Regions from separate parts of the Homo sapiens genome. Here region 2 is linked to region 1. Evidence: promoter capture Hi-C in human tissues and cell types (Jung and others, 2019). All regions are on one chromosome and are shown on one strand. The core of a region is centred on a gene start or on the middle of the fragment in contact, and the rest is flanking DNA. Distances in the headings are between cores, read along the strand shown.

What was found. The method cuts DNA at HindIII sites, captures the fragments that hold promoters and counts their contacts. A contact is called where the count stands out against the background at its distance.
Region 2: a contact is called between a fragment that was not itself captured here and the fragment with the promoter of MPP4 in region 1, in 1 of the 25 tissues and cell types used here (mesenchymal stem cells).

What each region holds. Positions count from the first base shown.
Region 1 is chr2:201,697,284-201,699,983 of GRCh38, reverse strand. MPP4 (MAGUK p55 scaffold protein 4) reads left to right here and starts at 1,340. Exons shown (of 22, transcript NM_033066.3): 1 at 1,340-1,397. RefSeq lists enhancers at 1-208, 209-710. The HindIII fragment of the contact is 2,902 bases long and covers 1-1,682 here.
Region 2 is chr2:201,527,509-201,530,208 of GRCh38, reverse strand. All of the region lies in intron 13 of CATSPERT (catsper channel auxiliary subunit tau), which reads left to right. Among named protein-coding and RNA genes, the nearest start is that of STRADB, 77 kb to the right of the region's middle. The HindIII fragment of the contact is 6,823 bases long and covers 1-2,700 here.

The DNA.
Region 1 (2,700 bases), core at 91-2,590:
ATTTACAGAATTTCTGACTCTGGGCGGGGGTGGATAATATGTGGAAATGGACAAACAAAAACTTTGAGACAAATTGACCCATTGAGAAGATTTCCAATGATGATAGGCTGTCTCTGTTCTAAGAAAAGCCATGTTACAATTCGTCCTTTTACTGGAGTCTTGAATGAAACTGTTCAGTTACTTTGGATTCTTCCTACTATATGCTTTTCAGATAGCATATTAAAGTTATAAATTTTGAAGTGTATTGGAAGAAAAACCCTAAATCTCCAGGCCAATGTTTGTAAATAGAAGTCCTTGGCACTCCTGCAGCAGTTTACAATGGTCATTCACATGCGTAATGAATGCTTACAGCAGCCCAAGGATGCAGGTGTTATCCCCATTTCCCCCCATTTTTCAGACAAGCAGTGACCAAGATTTGCTCACTGCCAGAGCTGGGACTCCAGCCTAGAACTTCCCTACTCCCTACTTCCCTAGAAGTCCAGTGCTTTTTGCTACTACAGCTGCCAGAGATGTCATTTCATAGCTGGTTATGTATTGAAAGTTCTTAAAAGTGAGTTAAAAATGAAAATCTTATTGAAATCAAGTGCTTTTCACAAAATATGCTGTACTCAAAACACAAATGTATCACATTCCCAACTTGTGTTTTCATCTATGATGGAGAGATAAGGAAAGCCATGTGATTAATATGGGTAGAAGGGCTGAGGACCCTCTGATAATTGCCATTTGGTCTCTACCTTTTGCCTTGCTGTCAGCAATACCTTCCTCTCCTTTCTGCAATATCCCCTTCCAAATGCTCTCCCCACTGAGCACTCCCTGCAGTATTAAGTTTTCAGATAAAGAAGTAGCTCCTATCTGAGACAGAAAGCACTATTTGTTAGGTTCAGAACAGTGGCTTGGGAGGGGATTGACCAGAAGGTACTGTTTTTGATGGGTTTCTATTATTAGCTGAACAGTCTTCAGTTGTTTTCTCACCATAACATGAGAGATTTAATAAGGTTAGTAGGTTATTGGCTTATTTCCGGTCCTGCCACATTTTTTTCTTTCATTAAAAATGCTATCTTCTGTTGTGGAATGTCTGTCATCTTGAACTAATCAACAAAAATACTATGTTTTTCTGCCGTTAACTATGTGTTGGCAATTTGAGAGAAAATACTAGAATGTAGGTTTGAAAATGATACAAATTAGACTTCAAGGAATACTTAAGAAGATTTGTGGCAGGAAAGGCTTGTGAGTAATTTAGTTGTTAGGCTGGGTTAGGCATCTGTGGATTACATCAAAGAGGATGTGCAGAGATTTTATCGGGAGCAGTGAGGTGACTTTGGCAGCTAACAGGCCACTAGTATCCTACTAAAGCTTTTGTCTGGATAGGAGCAACATGCATGTTTACAGTCTTGCAGGTAAGAGACCTTGGCAAATAATCCTCAGTTACCAGAAGATGTATCCATAACTGCCTAGCTTGCCTGTCAGTTTTTAATAGCTAAAGATATAAATCTGGGTAATCTAACTCAAATGGCTTAGTTTCATTTTAACTCAAATGATATGGGGAATTTTATGATCTTGAAAGAGCAGGTTTTGCTTCGAGAAGCCATTTCTTCAGTATGGAATAATGAGTTGTCAGGAAGATTGAGTACAATGGGCATTTGCCCTGGTCCTAATCAACAGCATTTGGACCCAGAGGAAGCCAGCTATTTTTGTAAGGGCCATTTCTCATCATTAAGTTTCCAAGTGCTTTTTTAGGGTTTGTCTAGTAAAAAGCACTATTTTGAAAAACAAGCATAGTAAGGGTAGGGGGTTGTGGCATTTAATAGTACGTTTTAAAAAGCTAATGGAAATACTTTTAAAACAAGATTTAGGACAAATTCCTTAGGCATCAGTCACACTAATGCATCTTCTGAGTCAAGAACTGGCTATCCTTTCTGTGTACTCAGTCCGGAATTGCATGTGGTGGGTGCTTACTTATTTGCAGTCTCAATCAAGAATTCTCACTCTCAAGATAGCAGAAATAGATAAGCTTCAACTGACAAATTTGGTACAGAAGTCATGGAAAGGAAGGTAAGTCTTTTGCCAGGCATCATGCCAGGCATCAGCATCTTTCAGGACTAAGGAAACAAAAGAGGAAAACTCGATTTTACTACATGTTAACTCTACTGAATACCTCCTTGAATGTCAGATTCCTTATCTGTAAAACAAAGGTTTTGCATTTGATTATCTCTAAGATCCGCTTCTGCCCCCAGTTTTAAAGTTTGATAGGGAAAGAGGTTTAAGTCAGGATACCAGGCCAGGGAGGAAAGGAAGGGAGGGCACAGGCCTCTGGAGTTCAGCTGCCTCCCCCATTAGGATTGAAGTCCCAGCTGCTGGCTACTGCCTTGAGGGAGGTATCAGCCTTTTACTTCTGGATCTTGGCCTCTCCTTGTTCTACCCCTTCCCAACAACAACTGAACATACCAAGTGCTTGCTATGGCCCAAGCACTGTTGCAGGTGAAGCTGCAGCATGAACAAGATAAGCAACATCTCTGCTCCCCAGGCCCTCTGCAGACATGACACCTGCGGGAGACAGACACTGAGCAAGCCAGTGGATACAAGAACTGGGAAAATGAGAAGTGCTATGAGGGCAAGAAGTTGCAACTGTTTTCTTAGCTACCTGGAGGGAGGGAAAATCATTTTCTGGAAGTTTTTTTCTATGAGTTTTGTCTTAGCTTT
Region 2 (2,700 bases), core at 13-2,512, 170 kb after region 1:
GTTTTATTGGGAACCTCCATACTACTTTCTAAAATGGCTGTACTAATTTATATTCCCACAAATAGTGTACAAGGGTTCCCTTTTCTCCACATCCTTGCCAACACGTATCATTCTTCTTTTTGATAATAGCCCTTGTAACAGGCATGAAATGATATCATATTGTGGTTTCAATTTGCATTTCTCTGATGATCAGAGATATTGAGTATTTTTAGTATATCTATTGGCCTTTCATATGTCTTCCTTTGAGCCATGTCTGTTCAGTTCCTTTGCCCATTTTAAAATTAGGTTATTTGTTTTCTTGCTTTTGGGTTGTTTGTGTACCTTATATATTTTGAATATTAGCCCCTTATCAGCTGTATGGTTTGCAGATATTTTCTTCCAGTTCATGTTTTGTCTCTTCACTCTGTTCATTGTTTCCTTTTCTGTACAGAAGCTTTTGATTTGATGCAACTCCATTTGTCTTATTTTTGCTTTTCGTGCCTGCATTTTTGGAGTCCTATCCAAGAAATCATTGCATAGACCAGTATTGTGGAGATTTTCCCTTATGTTTTCCTCTATTAACTTTACAATTCCACATTTCCACATCTTACATATAAGTCTTTTATACATTTTGAGATGATTTTTGTGTATGGTGTGAGATAAGTGTCCAATTTTATCTTCTGGGCCATATCTATTTTTCCCAACATCATTTATTAAAGAGTCTGTTCTTTCCCTTTTGTGTTTTTGGCATCTTTGTCAAATATCAACTAATTATAAATACTGAATACTTGGGTTTATTACTGGGTTGTCTACCTGTTCCATTGGTTTATGTGTCTTTGTGCCAGTGCCATGCTGTTTTTATTACAATAGCTTTATAACATAATTTGAAACCAGGGAGTTGTGATGCATCTAGCTTTGTTCTTTTTGCTCGAGATTGCTTTGGCTGTTTGGGGTATTTTATGGTTCCATATGGGTTTTAGGATTATTTTTTCTATTTCTGTGAAAAATGACATTGGAGTTTTAGTGGGAATTGGATTGAATCTGTAGACTGCATTGGGTAGTATGGATGTTTTAAAAATATTAATTCTTACAATTCATGAATATGGTCTATCTTTCCATTTGTTTTTATCTTCTTTCTTTCCTCAGTGTTTCATAGTTTTCCTTGTAGAAGTCTTTTACCTCCTTGGTTAAATTTATTCCTAGGTATTTTATTTTTAGTATAGCTATGGTAAATGGGATTGCCTCCTTGATTTCTTTTTTAGCTAGCTCACTGTGTATAGAAACTACTAATTTTTGTTGTTTTGTTCCTTCCAAGTTTTATTTTAGGTTCAGGAGTTACTTCTGCAGGCTTGTTACATGGGTAAATTTCATGTCTCTGGGGCTTAGTGTACAAATTATTTTATCACCCAGGTAGCAAATATTGTATCCAATAGGTAGTTTTTCGATACTCACCCTCCTTCTACCTTCCACCCTCAAGTAGGCCCTGGTATCTGTTCCCTTCTTTCTGTCCATGTGTATTCAATGTTTAGCTCCCACTTATAAGTGAGAACATGTAGTATTTCGTTTTCTATTCCTGCATTAATTCCCTTAGGATAATGGTCTTGAGCTGCATCCATGTTTCTGCAAATGACATGATTTCTTTTTTTTTATAGTTGCATCAGATTCCGTGGAATATACATACCACATTTGCCTTATCCAATCTACCATTGATGGGAGTCTAGGTTGATTCCATGTCTTTCCTATTGTGAATAGTGCTATGATGAACATATACATGAATGTGTCTTTTTGGTAGAATAATTTATATTCCTTGGGTATATACCCAGTAATGGGATTGCTGGGTCAAGTGGTAGTTCTGTTTTAAGTTCTTTGAGAAATCTCCAAACAGCTTTTCACAGTGGGTGAAGTAATTTACATTTACACCAACAGTATATAAGTGTTCCCTTTTCTCCACAGCCTCACCAGCATCTATTGTTTTTTGACTTTTTAATAATAGCCATTCTGAATGGTGTGAGATGTTAACTCATTGTGGTTTTGATTTGCATTTCTCTCTGATGATGAGTAATGTTGAGCATATTTTCATACGTTTATTGGTGGTGTATATATCTTTTGATAGGTGTCTGTTCATGTCCTTTGCCCACTTTTTAATGTTTTTTTTTTTTTTCGCTTTTTGCTTGTTGATTCAAGTTCCTTATAGATTCTGGATATTAGACTTTTTTCAGAAGTGTAGTTTGCAAATATTTTCTCCCATTCTTTAAGTTGTCTGTTTACTCTGTTGATAGTTTCTTCTGCTGTGCAGAAGCTCTTTAGTTTTTATTAGGTCCTACTTGTCAATTTTTATTTTTGTTGCAATTGTTTTTGGAGTCTTCATAATTAAATCTTTTCCAGGGTCTATGTCCAGAATGGTGTTTCCTAGGTTTCCTTCTAGGGTTTTTATAGTTTTAGGTTTTCCATTTAAGTCTTTAATCTAACTTGAGTTGATTTTGGTAGATGGTGAAAGGAAGGGGTCTGTTTTAATCTTCTGCATGTGGCTAGCAAGTTATCCTAGCACCATTTATTGAGTGGGGAGTGCCTTTCCCACTGCTTGTTATTGTCGACTTTGTCAAAAATCAGATGGATGTAGGTGTGTGGCTTTATTTCTGGGTTCACCATTCTGTTCCATTGGTCTATGTGTCTGTTTTTGTACCAATACCATGCTGTTTTGGTTACTGTAACCTTGTACTG